Regions from separate parts of the Homo sapiens genome. Here regions 1, 2 and 3 are each linked to region 4. The links are contacts of gene promoters, found by promoter capture Hi-C in blood cells and fetal thymus (Javierre and others, 2016). All regions are on one chromosome and are shown on one strand. The core of a region is centred on a gene start or on the middle of the fragment in contact, and the rest is flanking DNA. Distances in the headings are between cores, read along the strand shown. Region 1 holds the start of TRS-CGA3-1 (tRNA-Ser (anticodon CGA) 3-1). Region 2 has its middle 4.0 kb from the start of TRQ-TTG3-3. Region 3 has its middle 3.7 kb from the start of C6orf62. Region 4 holds the start of H3C4 (H3 clustered histone 4).

Region 1 (3,313 bases), core at 443-2,942, 1.5 Mb after region 4:
ACAAAATCCTGTAAGTTGGCTCTTTCGACGCTTGTCTCTTTCACGTTCAAGTAACAGCACCACTCTGGAAAAGGACATTCACAGGATTGTTAATACGGCTTTGAAGAAGGAAAAAGTGAGAGCACAAGCGAGCCAGCCAGGAGTCGAACCTAGAATCTTCTGATCCGTAGTCAGACGCGTTATCCATTGCGCCACTGGCCCCTGCCTGTAACGCTGTCTTAACTGTTACTCTTTTCATAATTATATTGTATTATACTATTGGGGCCAGAAAAAAAAAAGATTGTTTCTTTATTTAGGTAGGGATTAAAACCCCAAACCACACTGATTCAAGGAAAGCATGTTTTCTTTTGTGGTTTGTTGGCATAATAGACATTCACATAAAGTGTCTTTATTGAAAATAATGACCATTTTTCATCTTTGAAACATTATATATGAGCTAAGATGAATGTCTTTCCTTCAAAGCAATATTGGTGTTTCTATCTTCTCTTTCATGTGTGTGCCTACTTTTTAGCTTTTTGTTACTTATTTTTCAGGCCAATCAGCTGCTTTTACCTGAATTTGATTTTTTTTTTTTTTTTTTTTTTTTTTGAGTCGGAGTTTCGCTCTTGTTGCCCAGGCTGGAGTGCAGCGGCGCGATCTCGGCTCACTGCAACCACCGCCTCCTGGGTTCAAGTGATTCTCATGCCTCAGCCTCCCAAGTAGCTGGGATTACAGGCATGTGCCTCCATGCACGGCTAATTTTGTATTTTTAGTAAAGACGGGGTTTCTCCGTGTTGGTCAGGCTGATCTCGAACTTCCTACTTCAGGTGACTCGCCCGCCTCGGCCTCCCGAAGTGCTGGGATTACAGGCGTGAGCCACCGTGTCTGGCCTGAATTTCATTTTTAATATACTTACATTGGGCACTAATGATGTATGTGGATCAGTAATGAGCAATATGTATTATTTTAAATTTAGATATTGCCAAAAGTAAAGTGCTTTGTAATACATTTCTGGAAGTATTAATCATAGTTTTTCCCTCTTCTCGTCCAAAAGGAAAAAACAAGTACCCACTCACTAGGGAGAAGTTTATTGTAAAATGGTATTACAACTCAAAGTAGCAGATGAAGACACTCAAATTTAACGAGGAGTCAAGAATTCGGGAAAGTACACATTTTTCAGAATCACATTTGACATAGAAACTTAGAAAAAGGAACTTTACTTGCATAGCTGTTCAAAGTAAGCAAAATAGTGGAAAATGAAGAAGTGCTTATAAGGAGACGAAGTTTCGTATGGGTTTAAGAAGGTGGTCAGAAGCCAAAATATATCCTCTTTGTGCCTCTGTTTCCTCGTTTATACAAAACGCTTTGAAGAGCAACTAATGCATATGACGGATTGTTATCATCCTAATTTTTTTGGCTCCCACCAGCTGTGAGATCAGGACAAATACAAAGTAAAGATTGCTGCCTGAGAATGCTTTAAGAAAGCTGTCATACTAGTAATCTAAAAGGGAAATTGTATTCCTAATATTTTCAACGTTGCACCTGTCTTGTATTTGCCATTATGATTAGATGTAAGACAACTAGTATCTTCTTTTTCTTTGAGACAGTCTCACTCTGTCTCCCAGGCTGGAGTGCAGTGGCGCGATCTCGGCTCACTGCAACCTTCGCCTCCCAGGTTCAAGCGATTCTTCTGCCTCAGGCTCCCAAGTAGCTGGGACTACAGGCGTGCGCCAGTAAGCCCGGCTAATTTTTCTGCATTTTTAGTAGAGACGGGGTTTCACCGTGTTGGTCAGGCTGGTCTCCAACCCCTGACCTCAAATGATCCGCCCGTTTCGGCCTCCCCAAGTGCGGGGATTGCAGAAGTGAGCCACCGCGCCCGGCCTTCAAATGTACATATTTCTTGATGTACATTTCCACAAGTGTGCGCGCGCTGTAAAAGCCACAGCGATAGCACTCACAACTTTCTATCCTAGTGAACTAATGAAAGCTAACTGATGAAAGTAGCAAATTGGAAATCTAACCAGAAAATGGCGACGCTGTGAGCAGGATTTGAACCTGCGCGGGGAACCCCCATTGGATTTCGAGTCCAACACCTTAACCACTCGGCCATCACAGCTCCGAGGACACTTTTTGTTTCAGAGGAAGTCGTGTTAGGCTCTTTGACTCTCTCGCTTTTTAATGTTCCCACGGCAGGTTAATGCTTCCGTGTTTGTATTTGTCACTTTTTATATATTTGTCTCTCTCTTTCAATAAGAAGTTCCTGGGAAACATAATAGTGTCTTAATCTTTACTTGTTATCTGACTCTCTATGCATCAGAAACTTATTTGGTGCTTAGTGGCTGCTTTTGTTGCTGGAACAAATCCCCGGAGACTCAGTTGTCTGTTCCCTATTCCTCCCTCCAGTTCATGAATTTTCTTCTCTCTTTACCCAGCACATGTTAGAGTCACGTTCTTGCTGCACTCTCAATTTCCCTGCCTCTCTCACTTTGTACTCCTTTGGCAAAGCCACAACCAGGGCAGCTAAACATGGCGGAAGAAAAACAATCAGTTGACAGACCTCACTTTAAATTCATGACAATGAATGTCAAGTAGGTGCTCAAGGCTACCAGGCAAATTGTACCATACGCGATTAGATTAGTCCACTCCCAATCCTCTTGTTCTAAGTCACTGTTTCAGCCGGATGCAGTGGTCCAAGCCTGTAATCCTAGCACTTTGGAGGCCGAGGCGGGGGGGGAGATCACCTGAGGTTAGGAGTTCGAGACCAGCCTGGCCAACATGGCGAAACCCCATCTCTACTAAAAAAAAAAAAAAAAAAAAGCCAGATGTGATGGCTCGCGCCTGTAATCCCAGCTACTCGGGAGGCTGAGGCAGGAGAATAACTTGAACCTGGGAGGCGGAGTTGCAGTGAGCTGAGATGGCGCCACTGCCCTCCAGCCTGGGTGACAGACAGTGAGACTCCGTCTCAAAAAAAAAAAAAATAAGTCACTATTTCATATCTCTCATGCCAATGCTCCAACACCTCCTCTCCCATCCTTGTGTTCAATTGATGACTTTACTTCCTACTTCACAATCAGAAGAGACCTTCCACGCACATCTATCACCACATTAATCCACCTACCAGCCTCTGAAGGACTGTCAGTGATCCTATAATGCCTTGACAAGGTCGCCGATTATCTCCACATGGCTAAAATCATTTCCCAGTCCTCACCTTACTTGGGATAGCTGCAGCTATTAATACATTCTCCTTCTTACAACACTTTCTTCAATTGACTTTAGGGTAACAATTTTCCTGGTTGTCTTCCACTTAGTAATAAGCATTTAAGATTCCTCCGTG
Region 2 (3,482 bases), core at 364-2,863, 1.6 Mb after region 4:
AAATGTGCAGGTTTTTGAGGCTCTATGTAGGAATCATTTTGGGCTAAGAGCCAAGAAGGTGAACGATGAAGCTCAAAACTTCTTACCCACCCCATGGCTGTCTTTGCTCCCACCACTATGGCCTAACCTGCTGTTCCCAGAACATGCTAAGCAGAGCCTGCCTCTGGTACTTTGCACTCATAGTTCCTTCTGCCCCAAACAGCTTCCCCCAGGTAGCAATATACTCTCTCACCAGTTTATGCCAATGACAGTTCAATGAGACCTCATTTGTATGCCCTCCTTAAAAATGCAATCTCCAGCTCCCTATCCCCTTTCCTGCTGTATTTTTATCTAAACCACTTATCAAGGTGATGACATGTTATGGAATTTAATCCCACCTCAAAGTACCATAAGAACAGGAATTTTAGCAGGCTATTTTCAGCGTGTATTCTCAATGCTAATATATTGTCTCTCATATATTAAGTGCTCAATAAATGTTTTTTTGGTTAAGTAAGTTAATTTCCTTTAAGCTGGCTGATGGGGTCATATAGAGGTAAAATTACTGGCTCTGAGTGATTTTCCTCACTTATAAATATAATTTGCAGTAATTTCTATATTATTCTTTTCCTCTTAATGCATGGTGATAATTATTTCCCTGTTACATATGTCTTTTTTGTTTGTTTGTTTGTTTGTTTGAGACAGAGCCTCGCTCTGTTTCCCAGGCTGGAGTTCAGTGGCGCAGTCTTGGCTCACTGCAACCTCTGCCTCCCGGGTTCAAGTGATTCTCCTGCCTTAGCCTTCTGAGTAGCTGGGATTACAGGCATGTGCCACCATGCCCAGCTAATTTTTGTAATTTTAGTAGAGACGAGGTTTCACCATGTTGGCCAGGCTGGTCCTGAACTCCTGACCTCAAGTGATCTGCCCACCTCGGCCTCCCAAAGTACTGGGATTACGGGCATGAGCCACCATGCCTGTCCTACATATATCTTATTCATTGTCTTATTCAATCATACAACTTCCTGATAAAATGAGGCTGATTTTCACCCCTATTTTGCTGTTAAGGAAACTGGTATAATGAGTGTCACTGACTTGTTTGTGATCACACAGTGGACAAAATGGCATTTGTTTCTTTGTGGTGATCTCACAAAGGTCAAGATGACCTTAGATCCTCAGTTTTGGCTGTTTTTTTTTTGTTGTTTTTTTGTTTGTTTGTTTGTTTTACACCAAGGAACCAGGTTCTAGCTCCTATGTTTGTTCATTGCATGGAAAGGAACAGGAAGATCTGGGGGCCACTGAATGGAAGGTTAGATCCATTTTCTTGGTTAAGCTTGTAGGTTTTCTCGTCTCTTTTCCTTCCTGCAGCACAATTCTTATGAATGGCAATATCTTCTATTAAAATTCTCAGTCTGTAGTCTTCTTGTCCATACAGAAAATAGATTTCAGGTCAACACATTTGATAGTCTGGACTGTGCTAACTGCTCCAATATTTGAGTACATCTTTTGGGGATGTGGGAATTTAGTGTTGTAGGCCTCAAGTGGGGTTCGTTCCCAGAATTTGGAGAGGCTATAGAAATATAACCTGGTTGGCCAGGCACGGTGACTCATGCCTGTAACCCCATCAATGTGGGAGGCCGAGGCAGGTGGATCACCTGAGGTCAGGAGTTCGGGACCAGCCTGGCCAACATGGAGAAACCCTGTCTCTACTAAAAACTTTTAAAAAATTAGGCGGGCGTGGTGGTACGTGCCTGTAATCCCAGCTACTTGGGAGGCTGAAGTAGGAGAATCCCTTGAACCCGGGAGGTGGAGGTTGCAGTGAGCTGAGATCACACCATTGCACTCCAGGGCAACAGAGTGAGACTCCATCTCAAAAAAAAAAAAAAAAGAAAAAGAAATATAACCTGGCCATAATATAAGCATAAATAAAATAGATGACATTCTTTCAAAGCTTTTCTTAGCCTCTTATGTTTCTCAGATATTAAATAATCGGGCCAGGCACAGTGGCTCACGCCTGTAATCCTAGCACTTTGGGAGGCCGAGGCGGGCAGATTAACTGAGGTCAGGAGTTCAAGACCAGCCTGGCCAACATGGTGAAACTCCATCTCTACTAAAAACACAAAAAATTAGCCAGGTGCAGTGGCACGCGCCTGTAATCCCAGCTACTCGGGAGGCTGAGGCAGGAGAATCGCTTGAACCTGGGAGGTGGAGGTTGTGGTGAGCAGAGATCGTGCCACTGCACTCCAGCCTGGGCGACAGAACGAGACTTCATCTCAAATAAAAATTTAAAAAAAAAATAGTCAAATGCAAAATAAAGTAACATTCCAGCAATTTAATGACAGATATTGAAGCCACCTTTGCAAAATTATGACTGAGACAGAGAAAGAGATGGAATTTAACCAACTCCGTCTTGCTTCTAACCTCCAAGCCATCCTTGTTCATTCCTGGGTGTAGGCTGAACTAATTTAGGGAGAAACTTAGTTTGTAGTTTATAGTTTAAACAAAGATGGTAACAGCCCTTTCCCAAAGCAGACCTCCTTCTTGCCTTGGGACTGGATTGCCTTTGTAGGACTAACATTAGCCACAAGATTAAAAATTATGGCAGCTGGAGGCTACAAGATTCTAACCCTCCCTAACTGCTCCTAAGATCAGTGCTTGAGATATTTTGCAGACGCTGCACTCAAGATGGGTCAGATAGCACCACCCAGATCTATTAACTGGCTCATCTGATCCTGTAGCCCCCACCCAGGAACTGACTCAGCACAAGAAGAGAGCTTCAACTCCCTATGATTTAATCTCTGACCATTCAGCACTCCTGGCTCACTGGCTTCCCCCCATCCACCAAGTTATCCTTAAAAACTCTGCTCCCCAAATGCCCAGGGAAACTGATTTGAGTAATAAAACTCCAGTCTCCTGCACAGCCAGCTCTGTGTGAATTACTCTTTCTCTATTGCAATTCCCCTGTCTTGATGAATCAGCTCTGTCTAGGCAGCGGGCAAGGTTAACCCCTTGGGTGGTTACAATATGTACATGGGAAAGTGGTTGGCCTGCTTGGAATTGGAACAAAGGCAAACTAAGCATGATGATTATCAATGAGTTGCAGCCCAAAACCAACCAAGGAAGGACTATTAGTTCATGCTAGATTGCCTGTGTGGCTGTTTAAGACAGGATTCCACCAACAGTAAGAGAGACAAGTTTTAATCCCATTCAAAATTATGAAACTATTCCTTAGTAACCAGGCTGTTTCATTTACTTTGATTTGTTACTTACTAAAGCAATTTCTGATTAACAATTTGTGGTCAGTTCTAAGTCCAGGCACATCTTCCACTATAATTAACACAATGAGTTCTAGCTTTACTATTTTCTTATAAGTTTTGTTATTGTGAATATATCCTTCAGATGCAAGCATCCCAATAAAATCTCTGCTTGAAAAGGCCTGGTGCAATGGCTCACGCCTGTACTCCCAGCACTTTGGGAGGCCGAGGTGGGCGGATCACCTGAGCTCAGGA
Region 3 (3,390 bases), core at 1-2,500, 1.5 Mb before region 4:
GGGGCTCCCCGCCACTCCTTCCGCCCCCCTTCTTCAGGAAGTCCCAGTCTCCTGAGTTGGCTCTTCGCCCCGCCCCGATGTCGTCATAAAAGCACGCCCTCAACCATCCTCAACAAAACACCCGGATGGAGTCGCACTTCCCGAGTCTCGTCAGCCTCTCAGAGTCAGGCTGGGCGCGTGACAGAGCCGAACTAGCGACCTGGGCGGGCCAAAACTGCGGAAGTCGGCGGAGAGTGGGCGAGGGTAGGGGCGGAGCAAAGAAGGAAAAGGAAAGTGTGTGTTGGAGATTGGAAGATTCTTATTTCGATTCTTATAATTAGTTAGTCCTGGGGGTCGGCCCCGCGGTATCCTGCGGCAACAAACCTAGAACTCAATTCGACACCTGGAATTTAAACGGCGTGCGGGAGCAGATGTCTCATGTTAGTGCTACTTGCCTCTGTCCCCACCCCGCCACGTGCGCAGGCAGGGAGGGCGGTCCTCAAGCTTCGAACAAGGTCAAAGACGTTGTTCAGACGTTGCTGCTGTGGCTTAGGAGAGGAGCAGCCCAGTCTGACTCGTGGATTTTTACCCACTGCTGTCAGAACACACTTTCTGTTAGAATCCCCCAAGACCTCAGACCTACAGCCTGCCCCTTAGGTGGTTCACTGTCTTCATCGAAACGTTTGCCGCCGAGTCGCACGTCCTTGGCACCAAAAAGCGTTGAGTCCATTTTTCAAAGCTCTAATGTGCTCTTTAAAACACAGTTATGTAAGTACTTAGCAAAGGTCAATACTCCACATAAGCAATGCTTATATACTCATTGGCTACTCTGAGATTTTAGAAGTCCATTGGGACCCCAATTACTACTTTTCACTTCGTGAAGTCAAAACAGATCAGCTGTAATAACATTATTTCAGCCATGAGCCAAAAGAATAACTGGTACCCACCCTTCAATATAAATTGTCCAGAACCAAAGGATGAGTCCTGAGATTTCCAAATAACTTCTAATCTCGGAAGATACAGCTTGCATTTTGCTAGTGCTTTGCTGATTTGTTTTCAAAATCATGTAACTATGGAAAGCTCACAGAGATAAAACAGAAAATGTCACGTAGTTTAGAGCATTGGTTTAAAAAAGAAAGATTTTTAAAAGTAAGCCGAGCATGGTGGCTCACGCCTGTAATGCCAGCACTTTGGGAGACCGAGGCAGGCGGATCACCTAAGGTCAGGAGTTCGAGACCAGCCTGGCCAACATGGTGAAACCTCGTCTCTACTGAAAATACTAAAATCAGCCTGGCTTGGTGGCAGGCGCCTGCAGTCCCAGCTACTCGAGAGGCTGAGGCAGGAGAATCGCTTGAACCCGGGAGGCGGAGATTGCAGTGAGCCGAGATCGCACCATTGCACTCCAGCCTGGGCAACAGAGTGAGACTCCGTCGGAAAAAAAAAAAAAAACAAACAAACATATGAGACATACAAGCCAGTATGATCTTCAGGTGATCCGCCTGCCTCAACCTCCCAAAGTGTTGGGATTACAGGCATGAGCCACCATTCCCAGCCGGCTTATATGTTCTTGACCTGGCCTTGACTTGTATCCATGATCAACTTCATGGAAGAATTTTTAAAATAACAGCTTTATTGAAATATAATTCACATACCGTATTTATCTACTTGAAGTGTACAATCCAATGGTTTTTAATATATTCAGTGTTGTGCAGCCATTACATTACCCCAAAAAGAAACCCTGTACCTATTAGCAGTCACTTCTCTTCTTTCTAGTTTATGTTCTGTCTATAGATTTGCCGTTTCTGAAATTTCATATAAATGAAATCATTTAATATGTGGTCTTTTGTGACTGGCTTCTTCACTTAGCATAATGTTTTCAAGGTTCATCCATGTTGTAGCATGTATCAGTACTTAATTCCTTTTTATTGTGGAATAATATGTATTGTATGAAATTCTATATTCATTCATCAGTTGATGGACATTTGAGTTGTCTCTGCCTTTTGGCTGTTATAAATAATGCTGCTATGAACATTTACTTAAAAGCTTTTGTATAGACGTATGTTTTTAATTCTCTTGGGCATATACTTAAGAGTGGAATTACTGGGATATATGTTAACTCTATCTTTAACCATGTGAGAAACTGCCAGATGTTTTCCAAGTCTGTTGCATCATTTTACATTTCCTCCAGCAGTGTATTCCAATTTCTCCACATTCTTGTTATTATGTCTTTTTTAGTATAACCATCCTAGTGGGTATGATGTATGTCATGGTGGTTTTGATTTTCCTTTCCCCAACGATTAATGATGTTGAGCATCTTTTCATGTGCTTATTGGCTGTTCTAATATCTTCTTTGGAGAAATGTCTATTCAGAACTTTTGCCCATTTTTATTTATCTACTTGTTTATTTATTTATTTTTTGAGACAGAGTCTCGCTATGTTGCCCAGGCTGAAGTGCAGTGGCATTATCTCAGCTCACTGCAACCTCCGCTTCCTGGGTTCAAGCAGTTCTTCTGCCTCAGCCCCGAGTAGCTGGGCCCACAGGCCCCCACCACCATGCCCGGATGATTTTTGTATTTTTAGTAGAGACGGAGTTTCACCATGTTGGCCAGGCTCGTCTCAGACTCCTGACCTCAAGTGATCCACCCACCTCGGCCTCCCAAAGTGTTGGGATTACAGGTGTGAGCCACCAAGCTCGGCCTTTTACCCATTTTTAATTTAAAAAATTGTTTTTTTAATTATTAAGGTGTAGAAGTTTTTTATTCTAGATACAAGTTCCCTGTCAAATATATACTTTACAAATACGCTCCCCTATTCTGTGGGCTGTCCTTTCACTTTCTTGGTGATATCCTTCGCAGCACGGAAGTCTTTAATTTTAATAAAGTCCAACTTATCTATGTTTTTCATTTGTCCCTTGTGCTTTTGTTGTTTTATCTAATACACCATTGAAGAATTTTTTCACTACTATAATAATCCTGAAAAAAACAGTATGGAGCAGATGTTGAGGAAAAAATGAAGTTTTTAGTTTCAGCTACTGTGAAACAGAATTGGAGACACCTGGTCACAGCTGAGCACATCCTATGAAACTGTGTTATGGGACTGTGCTAGGTCTTAATGAGATGAGCCAAGAAATAGCAGCAATGTCCCCTGGAGGACGAAAACACTGCTAGCTCAATTTTCTCTGTAACTTGAAAGGGCTATAAAATAAGAAGGTAGTCGAAGGAATTAAAATTTTTAAAAGCCGTGACCAAACGTTTCTCAATGAAATTCAGATAAAAGTCAGAGAGCATTCACTTAAGATTTAGCTTCTTTAACTGTGGAGAAATGCATTTCATTGTGTTAGAAATGGCTTACTTAGGGTTAGGCTGCTTCAAACACAATAGGATTTGTGGAGTGATGATTTGATGGTGGCAC
Region 4 (3,332 bases), core at 449-2,948:
TGACTCCTGGTCTATCTCCCAAGTCAAAGACTGAAGTAAAGAAAAAGGTTGCAAGTCCGAAGTTGCAGTGAAGTGCAAGATGTCCAGGCCCCTCCGGTATGTGAGTTCATCACTAATGACTTAGCCGTCTCCAAGAAGCGCAGCGGCCTTCTCTGTGGCCGCGCTCAAGTAGGTGTTGGCGGCTACGATATGAAGATCGGCCCTTGCCGGTCGCGGTGGCCTACGTTTGTAATCTCAGCATTTTGTGAGGCCAAGGCGGGAGAATCTCTTAAGCTAAGGAGTTGTTTTTGGTGGTTTTGTTTGTCCTTGGGGATTTTTTTTTTTTTTTTGAAGGAGTCTAGCTCTGCTGCCCAGGCTGGAGTGCAGTGGTGTGATCTCGGTTCACTGCAACTTCCGCCTCCCGGGTTCAAGCCCTTCTCCTGCCTCAGCTTTCCATGTAGCTGGGACTGCAGGCGTGTGCCACCACACCCGGCTAATTTTTGTATTCTCAGTAGAGACGAAGTTTCAATGTGTTGGGCAGGCTGGTCTCGAACTCTTGGCATCACGTGATCCGCCCGCCTTGGCATCCTAAAGTGCTGTGATTACAGGCCTGAGCCACCTCGCCTGGCCAAGCTAAGGAGTTTTGAGGCCAGCCTGGGTAACACAGTGAGACCTCGTCCCTAAAAATAAATACAAATTTTTAAAAATTATTTGAATAAAGTTGGGCCTTGAAAACAAACGAGGGCATCTTCGTGCTAAGGAGTGCAGCGCCTCAGGTTCATTCCCGCCAAACCAGGCAGTGTTAGGAAAATCAAGACCGAGGCCAGAAAAGCCGCTGCAGTCATGCCCAAGACAGCTGTCCTGGCAGCCGAGAGGCCCAAGAAAGCTTGGGGCGTCCTTATTCCGAAAAAGAGTACTAAGCGGACCCCAAAAGCTTTTGCTGGTGGAGGCTGCTGGAGAAGGTTGGTTGGTCAAAGGTGGCCAAGAAAGTTCCCAAGCCGGAGGCATCCAAGCCTAAGAAAGCGGCCCCCAAAACAAGGAGATATAAGAGTACCTTAAAGGCTGTTTTAAGAACTCCCCAATTATAATAAAGCTTTTTGCACCAATTCCGTGAGGGGAGGGGGAACGGATAGAGGCAAGAATGCTTACTTACCTTGAGTGAACAGAGGTTCCAGTTTACGGACAGCAACAGTAAACAGCAACTTTTATAGAAAAGGTGGTTGGCTCTGAAAAGAGCCTTTGGGTTTTGGTTAGCACACATTCACAAGACAATTTACGCCCTCTCCCCACGAATGCGGCGAGCAAGCTGGATGTCCTTGGGCATGATAGTCACTCGCTTGGCGTGAATGGCGCATAGGTTGGTGTCCTCAAACAGCCCCACCAGGTAGGCCTCGCAGGCCTCCTGCAGCGCCATCACCGCCGAGCTCTGAAAACGCAGATCAGTCTTGAAGTCCTGCGCGATCTCACGGACTAGACGCTGGAATGGCAGTTTGCGAATCAGCAGCTCGGTCGACTTCTGGTAGCGGCGGATCTCGCGCAGAGCCACCGTGCCGGGCCGGTAACGGTGGGGCTTCTTCACGCCGCCGGTGGCTGGAGCGCTCTTTCGAGCAGCCTTGGTGGCCAGCTGCTTGCGTGGCGCTTTCCCACCCGTGGACTTGCGAGCAGTCTGCTTGGTACGAGCCATTGCGAACTTCTAAACCCTGCTAAATGACGAAAAAACGAAAGTCTAGCCTTTCGTACCCGTATATATAAAGACACCCCTGTTCTGATTGGACAAGGCAGCCTTTCCCCTGCAGCTCGATTGGTGGAGACGCCCACTCCCTGACAGAACATCTCCTGCATGTAGACCAAATATTAAAACTTTCCTCCGTCCATCTTTAACTGCTGGTGTTTTCAACCCTTTCCCCTCTGTGCCATGTTTCTAGCTTTTATTTAAAACGTACTTTGGTTTTCCTTGGCAAAATTGTGTCTAGCTACTAGGATGACGTGTCTTAATTTTTTTTTAAATGTTGGCGCTGAAACTGGCTTTGATCAACGTTTTAAAAAGACGCGCGCTAGTTGTGATTGGCCAAGTGATTTCTTTTTACCCTCTTAAGTTTAGAAAGGTTAATTTCATATCTTGATTTGTCTATTTAAACTTGGAGATATTTTCAATAATTTGTTCCAAATGCACCATGACTATTAACTCATAAGTAACAATATGAAACCTGATGTTAAGCTACATGAACACATTTAATTTCACCACAATATGTCATCCTCATATGAAAGCACTCTTATCTTTTACAAGTTCAACTGGTATTTGTGTAATCTGCTGTAAAAAAAAAAAAAAAAAAAAGCCAAATTTATAAATGGCACAAAAAGACCAGTGTGCCCTTTTAGTCATGCTGAACACTGTGCTAAGAAGCTCCACCTAAGGGCCGTCTGGCTCCAGGGGATGTAGGTTTGTATTCCTATTGATAATTAATTAGGGTTAGCTCAGTAGAGTTGAAAGTGGCTTGCAAAAACAAACCCAAAAAATACTTACAAATTACAGGTTATTTCGTATCATTAAGATGCATACAAAAGACAATAAAACATTTGTTCTGGTTCTGTTGCTTTAAGTCACTAACTATATTTTTATGTAAATGTAAACACTGACAAACATTAACTTCTCTCCTGTATGTCTCAGGCCTTTTAACAGCTTTGCAATCCTAACGAGCCGCTGCATTGATCGATTTAAATTACATGTGACATAAAGTCTCTTTGCATTTTAATTAGTTTGCTTTTTTGGGTTTTTGTTTGTTTTGAGACAGTCTCGCTCTGTCGCCGAAACTGGAGTGCAGTGGCGCGATCTCGACTCACTGCAACCTCCGCCTCCGGGGTTCAACATTTTCTCCTGCCTCAACCTCTTAAATAGCTGAAATTACAGGCGCGCGCCACCACGCCCGACAAATTTTTTTATTTTTAGTAAAGACGGGGCTTCACACCATGTTGGTCAGGCTGTCCTGGAACTCCTGACCCTGTGATCCGCCCACCTTGGCCTTCCAAAGTCCTGGGATTACAGGCGTAAGGAACCGCGCCCCGCCAATTTGCTTATGTATTTTTATGGCATCTTTAAAATGGACGGTTAGTTTCACGATTCAGTGTTAAGAACACCCACTTATAAATGGAAAAATTATTAAAGAAAACTGCAAAATAGCTATTTACACAGAAAATGTGAGCCCTTTTAAGGAATACATGGGTGGCTCTGAAAAGAGCCTTTGTTAAGACTGCTTCCTTAAAAAGCCAATATAAGAGTTCTCGTTTTACTTGCCCTTGGCCTTGTGGTGACTCTCAGTCTTCTTGGGGAGCAGTACAGCCTGGATGTTGGGCAG

What was found. The method cuts DNA at HindIII sites, captures the fragments that hold promoters and counts their contacts. A CHiCAGO score of 5 or more calls a contact.
Region 1: a contact is called between a fragment that was not itself captured here and the fragment with the promoter of H3C4 in region 4, in 2 of 17 cell types (naive B cells and total B cells). The highest score is 8.8, in naive B cells.
Region 2: a fragment that was not itself captured here is called in contact with the fragment with the promoter of H3C4 in region 4 in 4 of 17 cell types (total CD4 T cells, monocytes, M0 macrophages and 1 more); the score reaches 7.1 in total CD4 T cells.
Region 3: a fragment that was not itself captured here is called in contact with the fragment with the promoter of H3C4 in region 4 in 2 of 17 cell types (M0 macrophages and M1 macrophages); the score reaches 9.9 in M0 macrophages.

The regions. Positions count from the first base shown.
Region 1 is chr6:27,670,437-27,673,749 of GRCh38, forward strand. It overlaps TRS-CGA3-1 (tRNA-Ser (anticodon CGA) 3-1), which reads right to left and starts at 2,095; the gene lies at 2,014-2,095. It overlaps TRR-ACG2-4 (tRNA-Arg (anticodon ACG) 2-4), which reads right to left and starts at 201; the gene lies at 129-201. The HindIII fragment of the contact is 3,512 bases long and covers 1-3,313 here.
Region 2 is chr6:27,798,217-27,801,698 of GRCh38, forward strand. No RefSeq gene overlaps it. Among named protein-coding and RNA genes, the nearest start is that of TRQ-TTG3-3, 4.0 kb to the left of the region's middle. The HindIII fragment of the contact is 618 bases long and covers 1,305-1,922 here.
Region 3 is chr6:24,721,178-24,724,567 of GRCh38, forward strand. No RefSeq gene overlaps it. Among named protein-coding and RNA genes, the nearest start is that of C6orf62, 3.7 kb to the left of the region's middle. RefSeq lists enhancers at 1-500, 246-1,039, 631-680, 731-820. The HindIII fragment of the contact is 1,539 bases long and covers 482-2,020 here.
Region 4 is chr6:26,195,588-26,198,919 of GRCh38, forward strand. It overlaps H3C4 (H3 clustered histone 4), which reads right to left and starts at 1,699. Exons shown (of 1, transcript NM_001376937.1): 1 at 1,197-1,699. The coding sequence starts at 1,663. The coding sequence ends at 1,253. It overlaps H2AC7 (H2A clustered histone 7), which reads right to left. Exons shown (of 1, transcript NM_021065.3): 1 at 3,197-3,332. The coding sequence ends at 3,264. It also overlaps the pseudogene H1-12P. RefSeq lists enhancers at 826-1,427, 940-1,049, 1,428-2,028, 2,771-2,830, 2,861-2,920 and 5 more. The HindIII fragment of the contact is 2,796 bases long and covers 1,071-3,332 here.